4 separate regions of the Homo sapiens genome follow, and all the other regions are linked to region 2. The links are contacts of gene promoters, found by promoter capture Hi-C in blood cells and fetal thymus (Javierre and others, 2016). All regions are on one chromosome and are shown on one strand. Each heading gives the region's core, a stretch centred on a gene start or on the middle of the fragment in contact. The rest is flanking DNA. Distances are from core to core; before and after follow the strand shown. Region 1 overlaps DDX56 (DEAD-box helicase 56). Region 2 holds the start of PGAM2 (phosphoglycerate mutase 2). Region 3 overlaps NUDCD3 (NudC domain containing 3). Region 4 overlaps NUDCD3 (NudC domain containing 3).

What was found. Contacts are between HindIII fragments. The CHiCAGO score rates a contact against its expected background, and 5 or more counts as called.
Region 1: a fragment that was not itself captured here is called in contact with the fragment with the promoter of PGAM2 in region 2 in 4 of 17 cell types (endothelial precursors, M1 macrophages, M0 macrophages and 1 more); the score reaches 10.4 in endothelial precursors.
Region 3: a fragment that was not itself captured here is called in contact with the fragment with the promoter of PGAM2 in region 2 in 7 of 17 cell types (M2 macrophages, total B cells, M0 macrophages and 4 more); the score reaches 7.9 in M2 macrophages.
Region 4: a fragment that was not itself captured here is called in contact with the fragment with the promoter of PGAM2 in region 2 in 1 of 17 cell types (M1 macrophages); the score reaches 6.6 in M1 macrophages.

Annotation. Positions count from the first base shown.
Region 1 is chr7:44,565,735-44,568,434 of GRCh38, forward strand. DDX56 (DEAD-box helicase 56) reads right to left here. Exons shown (of 14, transcript NM_019082.4): 12 at 2,384-2,489; 13 at 714-790; 14 at 70-345. The coding sequence ends at 268. Among named protein-coding and RNA genes, the nearest start is that of DDX56, 6.8 kb to the right of the region's middle. RefSeq lists a silencer at 1-76 and an enhancer at 1-429. The HindIII fragment of the contact is 3,764 bases long and covers 1-2,700 here.
Region 2 is chr7:44,064,247-44,066,946 of GRCh38, forward strand. It overlaps PGAM2 (phosphoglycerate mutase 2), which reads right to left and starts at 1,321. Exons shown (of 3, transcript NM_000290.4): 1 at 870-1,321; 2 at 586-766. The coding sequence starts at 1,283. It overlaps DBNL (drebrin like), which reads left to right. Exons shown (of 13, transcript NM_001014436.3): 13 at 1-2,700. RefSeq lists enhancers at 1-13, 658-717, 908-957, 1,018-1,087 and a silencer at 2,268-2,337. The HindIII fragment of the contact is 4,752 bases long and covers 1-2,700 here.
Region 3 is chr7:44,477,879-44,480,578 of GRCh38, forward strand. The region is part of intron 2 of NUDCD3 (NudC domain containing 3); the gene reads right to left. Among named protein-coding and RNA genes, the nearest start is that of NUDCD3, 11 kb to the right of the region's middle. The HindIII fragment of the contact is 6,664 bases long and covers 1-2,700 here.
Region 4 is chr7:44,415,845-44,418,544 of GRCh38, forward strand. The region is part of intron 3 of NUDCD3 (NudC domain containing 3); the gene reads right to left. Among named protein-coding and RNA genes, the nearest start is that of NUDCD3, 73 kb to the right of the region's middle. The HindIII fragment of the contact is 3,443 bases long and covers 1-2,700 here.

The sequences.
Region 1 (2,700 bases), core at 41-2,540, 500 kb after region 2:
TCCGAAGTTTCCCGACTCCTGATGTTTTGGGGATTCAAATAGTCCTTTTCATATGCTGGAGGCACAAACTGGGGCAGCTAAAATTTTTATTCTGTTGTCAAGGGGCAAGATGCCAGCTTGGAAGTGCCAAGGAGCTAAAGGGCCCAGCACTGCCGGCCCCAGAACTGTCTGTTCAGGCTGTGCAGTAAGCACCAGAGCCTCGCCTGTCCACGAAGGGTGTAAGCCTGTGCTCCACAATGTGCTCAGCTCCAGAGAGGCCCAACAACCTCAGGAGGGCTTGGCTGTGGGTCTGAATTTCTTTCCTTTGTGCTTGAAGCTGCGCAGTGGGTTCTGGGACTTTGCTCTCTAAGGAGGCAAAGTCACAGGTTAGTTGGGGGAATCAGGCCGACAGACAATCCACCCACCCACCCACCCAACTGAGAAAGACACAAAGGGAGCCGTGCCGGCAACTGGCCAACACGACCAGAAGGTGCTGCAGATAAGGAAATGGGGAAAGGCAGCTGGGGAAAGAAAAGCAGGGCCTGCAGGCGGCTGCAAAAGTACCCCTATCCCACACCAGATTTTTGGGGCCCGGTTCTAGGGTGCCCCCTCTTCCCCTCCCTAGGGCACCCTCTCTTCCCCTCCCTAGGGCAAGGCGCCTCCACATTCTGGTGATGACAAAAGAGCAGGTTGGGAGGAGTCCTGGGGCTGTCCGCAGTCCCCAGGAGCCGTACCTTGGCCTTCCTACAAGAGGAAGACAGCTTCTTCCGCTTCTTGTGAGGGCGCACCAGGCCACGGAGAGCAGGAGGAACTGGAAGAGATGCTTGCCTGAGCAGTGGGCTCACCGCTACTGCTCCCATCCCTGCCCTCCCGCTGATTCTGCAGCAAATTCTCCAATTCTGACCCAACTGGCAGCCTATGACATACATCTATTCACTACCACATCTGCACAGGGCCAGGAGAATGTGAGCACCTTAGACTTCCACTATTTAAATCACTCTCCTATATTGTTTAGATTTGTTACAACAAACATGTAACAAGAAAGAAAAAGACAGACATCCTTAAAGAAAGAAAATGCAGCTGAAATAAAAGTCAACAGGTAGTTTCTTCACCTGTGGCCCATTACTACCGATACAGGGGGCCCCGCATCCCAGCTGCACCTGATCTTGGCTCTATCTTCACCTCGCCCACCCCATGGACTCCCCCAGGCCAACCACACCTGGGCCCTCCCCTTCAAATGTCAAACATCCCACATCCTGACACCTTTCCACCTTCTCCTGGCCCTTCTAAACCTCCTGGCCACACCTTGGCAAATGACTCCGCTATACGAGCAGACTGGGTTCCTGAGGCCAAAGTTCTAGCCTTACCTTCTCCCTCCCTACCCACCCTCCCAACTCCCCTCCTCACATCTCAGGCCAGGACCTGGACTGGGGTCTCCTCCAGCTCACTGTCCCATGGGAACCCGGCCCCCACCGCTCTCTCTGGCATTTTCATGTTCCCATCTCTTCTGGATCCTTCCTTTCCCAGTGCCCAGGCTTTTCCTGCCCTGGAACATTCCATCTCCACCCTTTGTCACCTCCATAGCAGCAACACCACACCCGCTGGGTGGCTGCAGGTCCAGGCTGAGCAGACCCTGTGGCATTGGGAAGGGTCCTGCACTTGCTGCCCACAGCCTCCTCTCCACCACTCTCCTCCTTCAATCCATTTTAGGCATAAAAGTCACACATACTCATTACCAAAAACACCTCCTATGAGACACTGAAAGAAGTCATTACCCAGAGCCTGCCAAAGATGAGGAGAGGTGCCCAGTATTAATGGCCACATAAAGCTCTAGCCTGGGCTGCACTACAGAAACCAATCCCAGGGTCCTGACCTCATGCCTGCCAACCCCTGCATCCCTCGCACCACCACTGGCTCTTCTCTTGCTACCTTGTCGGTTTAGGCCTTACAGAGTCTGTCTCCCTGCTGACTGTTCTTACCCAGAGACTCCACAGATGCCTCTTCAGCAGCTGCTAATCTTGAGTCTTTTGCAGCACAGGTGGCTCTCTCTGCCTCCTGCCCGTGACTCTCTCCCAAACCTGTTCACTCCCTTCGACCCATGGATGGCCATTTGGCCCAGCTCTGGAGACGACCTGGCCTGAAATGCTGGGTCTGCCACCCACCCTGCACTACCTCAATTTCCTCATCTCTAAAATGGAGACAGCAACAGCTAACCCGTGGGACCAAGCAAACAAGTTTAGAAACACAGGGGTGTGCCTGTTTACATGCCCGCGTGCTGCCAGGGTCTCCAGGTTCTATTCTGCCTGAGCATCCCCAGCACCAAGCACAGGGGCTGACCCAGCAGTGGAGAAATTAATGCCACTTCCCCAGCCTGCTGCCTCCTGCCCTGTCAGGCCACACTCACCCAGGTAGTCAGGAACATGGCCCAGGTGGGGCTTCACCACTGCGGGGTGCAAAGGTAGGTCATGCCGCAGCAGCTGGAGGTCCCTAGGGTTGTCTTCAAAGTATGTCTGCCGGGGGAAGAGGGAGAGCCACAGAGTGAGCATCTTTCTTCTGTGACTTCACAGACCTAGCTTTTCAAAGGATAACACACTCATGTGTTTCAAAAGGCATGAGGCAGCTGCTTCTGTGCATTTCTCAGAACCTCCCGGGAGTGGATGTTTCCATTTTCCCTTCTCCATGACACACATGGCAGTACCCTGTACCCCTTTTTGCTGGGCA
Region 2 (2,700 bases), core at 71-2,570:
CTGCAAGCCCAGAGTCTGGCCACTCCATAGTCCTGCACCCCTCTTTTGATTGGTCTTTCCTTTGCCCAGAGAGGGGCTCCAGAGGGAGATAGGTGGTGAAGCTCATGCAGGGATTCTGAGGACCTGATGGGGGAGGGCCCTGCGAGGGGTCCAAGCCTACATCAAGAGGAATTCAGTACCAGGGGGAGCTCCCCACCACCCCGGAAAAGGGAGAGGCCCAGAGATGGAGGTGGCTTGTCCAGGGCCCCACAGTAAGTTGGGATTTGGAGCCAGATGCTCTAAGCCCAGCCCTTCCGTTTCCTAGCTGGGTGTCCCTTGGCAGATGCCACCTTTGGAGCCTGCCCCACCTCGGGACACAGCGAGCTTCGAGTGCAGTCAGCCCCTGTGGAGTGTGTCCCAGTTACACAGAAATGGGGAAAATTTCACAAAACTAAAAAATGGCTTCTCAGCCCTCCTTTTTCAGTGAATGATGTGGAGCCCCACGCCTAGAAAGCCTGGTCCATGGGCGAGAGACTTTGCTGAGATGAGAAGCCAGCTGGGGCTGCTGCCCACCCACCCTGCCCAGGCTCCTGAAGGTGGCCTCACCTTCCAGGTGCTTGACAATGCCCCGCAGGCTGTTCCCGTGGGCTGCAATGAGCACTCGCTTGCCGGCCTTGATCTGGGGAACAATCTCCTCGTTCCAGAAGGGCAGGGCCCGGGCAATGGTGTCCTTGAGGCTCTCGCAGGTGGGGAGTTCCCCGGGCTTCAGGCCTGCGTACCGACGCTCCTGGGGGACACAGGCACGCTGCTTTCCCTCCCAAGCCAGTGGGCCCCCACCCGACTCCCCACTCTGCAGCTTCCCAGAGGCCTTCCCAGCAAAGGCAGCCCACCTTGCTAATGGAGTTGTAGTAGGGGTGCTTCTCGTCCATCGGGGGCGGCGGGATGTCGAAGGAGCGCCTCCAGATCTTCACCTGCTCCTCCCCGTGCTTGGCGGCCGTTTCTGCCTTGTTGAGGCCTGTGAGGCCCCCGTAATGCCGCTCATTGAGGCGCCAAGTGCGCACCACAGGCAGCCACATCTGGTCCGTGCCGTCCAGGATGGCCCAGAGGGTGCGGATGGCCCGCTTCAGCACTGACGTGTAGCAGATGTCAAACTCCATCTTGGCATCCTTGATGGCCTTGGCTCCCCGCTTGGCCTCCTCGGTCCCCTTTTCACTCAGCTCTGCATCGAACCAGCCACAGAAACGGTTCTCCTGGTTCCATGTGCTCTCGCCGTGCCGGACCATCACGAGGCGGTGAGTGGCCATGGTGGCAGCAGGGACCACAGAGGACTCTGGACGGGGACGGCTGCTTCCCAACACTCCCAGCTTTATAATAGTGTCTTCCCAGCCCCCACCCACCCCAGCCAACTGCCAATCAGCATTCCAGGCGGTGGCAGGTGACCAGTAGCTGAGCTGCTGGGGGCTGGGGGCCAGGGGAGTGTGCAGGCCAAGAGGCTGTGCTTAAAATAGCCCCACGCATCCACCAGCTCCTGGCCTGGGTTCAGGTGGCATGTCTATAACCAGCTGGCACCCAGAGCCCAGACTGAGTGGGGCTGCTGGTCAGGGATGGGCGTGAAGGGCAGAAGTCTGGGCCAGGGGAGATGGGGATAGCAGGGACAGAGGGGCTCTCCAGGGCAACGCTCAGTGGCCTATCAGCCATTCTCTGCTCAGACAGAGGCACAAACAAAATCCCAACCCCTTTCTCCTGTGATTGGCAGCCAGGCTAGGAGGCGGCCCTCAGCAGGCAGAGGAGGAGAGCCAGAGGAGCTGGTGCAGACCACAGCTTTGTGGAGAGGAGTCTGGCCTTGTGGAAGGTACCAGGCAGCAGCAGCAGAATGGGCAAGGGCTGGGGCTGAGCCGGGTTTCCAGGACAAAGGGGGAAAGGGCCCCTGTCTTTCCTCCGGGGTCCCTTTGTCAAGGTCTCATCCATACATGCCCCATGCTCCCACCCTATCTGCCCTCACCCAAGCCACGCTCACTCTCCTAGCCGAAACCACCTTGAAAAAGAGAAATCCAAGGGGGTTTGGGGGCAGGACTGAGGACTGTCAGAAGTCTTGATTGTTAGGTAAATGCTCAGCTTAGCAGGAACCCACAACGTAGGCTGAAGGGTGGCACGGAGTTGAGTCTAGGACCAAGACTTCTGCATTCAGGTTTGGGGGATGAGAGCCACCAAGGCAGGGAAGAGACTATGAGCAATAAAGTCACAATTGGGGCCCTAATGAAGGGGCCATGGCCAGACCCTTGGGCATGGGCCCCATCCAGGGCCTCCCATTTCCTCCCACCCCAGTGACCACACTGTCACCTGCGACACTTCTGATAACAGGAGCGGGTAGGTGAGAGGCCAGCAGAGGGACCACCACTCTGAGACTTGGATCTGAGTGTGCAAGAAACCCTCGACAGGCCTCCCTCCATCCCTGCTGGCCTACCTGGGGAGGGGCTCCTGGCTTGGGGCCTGTGAAGCTAAGGCTCTGTACCCAAAGGTTGGCAGACAAGTCCCAGTGGGCAAAGTCCTGTCGGCTGCCAGGACCCCCAAGGCTGGCAGGTGGAACCCATCCCTCCTAGCAGTGCCATGCGCAGGTCTCACTGTTCCACACTGATCCTGATTGAAGCCACATCTCCTCATCTGCTTTTGTCCCTTTGACCAAGAGTTGATTCACTAGCCCAACTAAACATGACTGAGGAC
Region 3 (2,700 bases), core at 128-2,627, 410 kb after region 2:
GCTGGAGTGCAGTGGCACAATCTCAACTCACTGCAACCTCCACCTCCCGGGTTCATGCAATTCTGCTGCCTCAGCCTCCTGTGTAGCTGAGATTACAGGCACGCACCACCACACCTGGTTAATTTTTTGTATTTTTATAGAGACAGAGTTTCACCATGTTGGTGAGGCTTGTCTCAAACTCCTGACTTCAAATGATCAGCCGGCCTCGGCCTCTAACAGTGCTGAGATTACAGGCATGAGCCACCACACCCAGCCTGAACAACTATTAAAATTGTAAAGCATCCTTACAGAATATAAGCACATTCTCTGATGCTATCTTGTGCAAATAGGGAAATATCTGTGTGCAAATTCTCTCTCTTCTCTGAGGAATAAGATGGGTTATTTACTTTGGGCCGGGCGCGGTGGCTCACGCCTGTAATTCCAGCACTTTGGGAGACCGAGATGGGTGGATCACCCAAGGTCAGGAGTTTCAGACCAGTATGGCCAACATGGTGAAACCCTGTCTCTACTAAAAAAATACAAAAATTAGCCAGGCATGGTGGCAGGCACCTGCACTCCCAGCTACTTGCAAGGCTAAGGCAGGAGAATCGCTTGAACCTGGGAGGTGGAAGTTGCAGTAAGCCGAGATCATGCCATTGCACTCCAGCCTGGGCAACAAGAGCAAAACTCCGTCTAAAAAAAGAAAAAGATAGGTTCCTTTAAGCCCTGGGGTGGGGGCATTTCTGATCTTCATTTGACATGCCCTGGCAGCAACAGTAGGGCAGAAACAAGAATGAAATTCAGACCAATTGTAGGTTATTAGTCAGGGAGATGCTAAAATCAGAGTGATGGTAAAATTAGGTCAAAATAAAATTTCCCCCAAATCACCCCAAAAATACTATAAATGAAACCTGTACATTATTATGTATAAATAACAATGTATGCTGCAACAGCTTTAGGGCAGAACACAGGCACAAGGTTGCCAGGATCTGGGAGTCTGGCACCAATGGAAATGTCATTGTATTAGTCCATTCTCATGCTGCTATAAGGACATACCCAAGATGGGGTAATTTATAAAGAAAAGAGGTTTAATTGACTCGCAGTTCAGCATGGCTGGGGAGGCCTCAGAAAACTTACAATCATGACAGAAGGGGAAGTAAACACATCCTTCTTCACATACCAGCAGGAAGACGTGCCAAGCAAAGCGGGAAAAGTCCCTTATAAAACCGTCTATGAGAACTCACTATCACGAGAACCACATGGATATAACTGCCCCCATGATTCACTGCCTCCCACCGGGTCCCTCCCATGACATGTGAGGATTATGGGAACTGCAATTCAAGATGAGATTTGGGTGGGGACACAGCCAAACCATACTGGTCATCTATCTTGACTGTGGTGGTTACAAGACTACATTTGTCCAAAGTCATAAACTGTATTCTAAAAGGAATGAATTGTATTGTTACATAAATTATACTTTACTAAAACACAAAACAATTGTCTGTATACAGTAATGAACACCTTACAACAAAAATGCATATATAGAGGCAGGAGGAGTACTTGAGCCCAGAAGTTCGAGTTCAGCCTGAAAAACACAGCAAGATCCTGTCTCTAAAAAAATAAAATTCAAAATACATATATACAAAATATAAATACATTATTTTTAATCTTGTTTCTTTCTTTCCCAGCACTTACACTGAATTTATTTAAATTAAATAAGCATGTGATGTGACTTTACTGTAGTATACAAAAAGGGAGTTTTTGCCTAATACTGGTTAGAACCGAAAAACATGTCAAGTAAGAGTCATCAGATATCAGCAATCTAAGACTTAGATTCTCAGATTTTAGACAGAGTGCTCACAAAAGATGGTGCTTCTGTGTGGTCTTCTACAGAATAACTACCTTAAATTACTCAATTAAAAGAACTGCAGATCTATAATTTATAGGATAAACCATCCTGAACACTGGTGGGAGGACTTGGGGTGCAGCTAAAGGTAGAACAAGGAAAAGGATGGTCTTTCACATTCTATTTTCAAATCTGCTAAAACACTACATTTCAGGTATAACTAGAGATCGGTGCCACAACTTCCTGTTTTGTTCAAGGAAAACAAGTAACTGAAGCTGAGAATGTTCCAGTCCTTGGAAAGGTTTGATTAGGATTCTTGCGGTACCAGTCTATTCTGAACAAAGAGCTACCAAGTAGAAAGGTTAGCTTTCCTGAAACATATCCAAGTCTTCACTCTATACTTATTTTTAAGGTAGAACTCACAAAACTAACTCTAATTCTAACCCAGAACAAAATTCACTGGTTCAAGAATTTTAAAATAGGGTCTCTACAAAACAACAAAGTAGCTATTCTAGTCTATTACTCAGAAATCAAAACCAATACCCTCCTTTCATTTTTTAGAGATCATAAAAGGAATACAAAAAAATTAATAAAACAAAATAAATGGTCATTACAGAAAAATTAGAAAATATAGTAAGGGACAAAGATAAAAATGAAGAACACTCACAATTCCACCACTCTGTGATTACTACTACTATTTTCTTCCAGCTTTTTTTCTACATACATAATTTTTAAAGTTTTCAAATTTGATATTAGACTATATAGTTTGAATTCTCCCCTTCTCACTTAACATTATATCATGAAAATATCTGTATAAGTCAAGGTTCCACCAAAGAAACAGAAGCAGCAGATATAGTCAGCCCTCGCTATCCATG
Region 4 (2,700 bases), core at 72-2,571, 350 kb after region 2:
CAATGTCCCATAGGTGCCACAGACAAAAAACAAAAATAAACACTGCTGACAGGCAACCGTGACAGGTAGACTTAGGGAATAACTGGCCAGGCCAGAAAGAAAGTACAGCTCTGAAGAAAAACACTTAGACAAGCAAAATCCAAGAGATACAAAATAAACTTTTTCCAAAGTTTTAAGTGAGGTACGACTAAAAAAAAAATCATTCAGCAATTAAGAGACCAAGAATTTTTATTTTTACTTTATTTTATTTATTTTTTGAGATAGGGTCTTACTCTGTTGCCCAAGGTGGAGTGCAGTGGCACAATCACAGTTCGCAGAAGCCTTGACCTCCTGGGCTCAGGTAATCCTCCCACCTCTGCCTCCCAAGTAGCTAGGACTACAGCAGCGTGCCACCATCCCCAGCTAAATTTTTTTTGTGCTGTTTTGTAGAGATGGGCTTTCACCATGATGCCCAGGCTGGTCTCAAATTCCTGGGCTCAAGCAATCTGCCCACCTCAGCCTCCCAAAGTGCTGGGATTACAGGCTTGAGCCACCATGCCAAGCCAAGAATTTTTAAAAGAGGTCTGCAGTTAGGAAGTCGGAGGTTGCAGTGAGCCAAGATGGCGCCACCGCACTCTAGCCTGGGTGACACAGCGAGACTCCAAATCAAAAAAAAATAAAAAATAAAAAAAATAAGAGGTCTGCAGTGTTGTAAGAATGACATGGGGAAAAAAAATACTATTGAAGGAGAAAAAAGTTTTTCCAACCCCATAGGAGATGAAGCATGCCACCAAGGCAGGTCACCAGTACAAATTAGGTCAGCGAGCATCACAAAAGGCCTATTGTCACATAGATATACCGTGTTAATAAATAAATAAGGCAAGCCACTATTAAATAAGCCACTGAAAAAAGAAGTCCCTTCCTTCCATCCTTCTATCCTGATACTTATAACCAAACTTCACCTTCGACCCTTCTCTGAGGTGAGAGAGAGCACTAGCTCCAGAGCAAGCCTTGATTGTGACCTGGCTCTTATTGGCTGAGACCATGCACACACAGCTCTCAGTAGCCCTCATGGGTGCACAGCGACTGCCTGCATGATAGGAGGACTGGGGGGGACAACTCACTATTTCAAGACACAGAGAGGGCACCACACGAGTGCTGGTTAAATACACAAACCACCCACTTTTAGGTTCTATACGGCACCTGCCTCCATCTTGCTCATTTATTTACTGACTTTTACTGCTGTACCCCACTGGGATATAAGCTCCAAACCAGCAATCTTGTCTGTCTTGGTGACTCCCACATGCCCAGTTCCTGGGACAAAGCACAGCCCACACGTTTAGAAAACGTCTAATGTAGAATGAGCCAAATCCAGGGTTATCCTTGGTGATAGTAGAGCCACATCATCTTAGAGGTCATGATAAGTGCATTTGAGAGAGGTGTAAATCTGAACTTCAGACAAGACATCAGGGCAGGACCCTCATAACACGGTGCCGACCACAGGGAAGAATCATGGCATCAACATCCCAGATAGTCAACAAGCATATCTGAGACACCATTTCCAGTGGGGAGTTGTCCCAGGTAGCTGTGCAAAGTATGGTGAAAGCTGTTAGCTAACCTGGGTCTCTTGAGTCAAAAAAAGAGAAAATAACCAGTTTTAGCTTGGGCCTAATACAAACCCTTTCAGAGAAAGCCCCAGGGGTTCATAGAGCAGTTCAGAAGACAGATAAAGGACCAGGAAACTGTAAATTTTTTTTAGCCAAGTGAATGAAGCATGGCAATCGATGCTTTTCCTAATTTATTCAACTACATACACGGCAATACTAACAAAAAATGAAATGGAAATCAACACCTAACCCACTAAAACCCCAAAATTCTGGATAAACTACTTGGGAAGAGCTATTAGCTCCTGCTCCTGGCCTATTAAAAACAGACAGGAAGTAGTCATTTGAAAATAGAATTCCGTGTGGATGATCCCTAGTGATCTGGTCTGACTTTGATCTTAAAATTATACTGAAGTCTATGATTCTAGAGGTCACCAGTTGCTGGTAAGAGATATACTGGGGATGTGGGGTGGGAAGAAGGGAAAATTGAGCACACAGCTACTTGCTGCCGAAGCCAGGCCACCAGCAACTCACTGATCTGTGCCTGTGGTACCTTAAAGGCACAGGGCACTTGCAAAAGTCTCAGTCTTCTTAGGGATGCCATGGACCCCACCCAAACTCCTACACACAGGGCAGGTTTAGGACATGTCTACCTATTTCAAGTGGCCCCTGGAGAATGAAGGAGAGACTGCAGAGGGAGTGGTCATGGAGTCGGAAGGCACAGGACAGGAGGGCCAGAGGGACTCAGCTCCAGGCCAGCCTGGACTTCACACCTACCCAGCCGAGGCAGGAATGGGACTAAGCCTAGTCACCTTACTGTCACCATGTGGGATGCAAGGTGCAAGCCAAGTTGCCCCCACCATACAGAGAGGTTCATTTCCTATAAATGCACATGAGACGTGTTCCAGGACAGTCTCTCCTTCTAAGAAGCCAGCACCACTTGTATGTATAGAGTAAGGAGGGTGGCACAGAGGGAAAAGCATAAGGTTTAGAAGCAGACACACCTGACTCAAACCACAGCTTTGCTACTTCATTCATGCAGCTATTCATTCATTCAAAAACTTATCCAGAGTGCTCACTGTTCCAGGCATAACAACAAGGGAGATGACACTGTGGA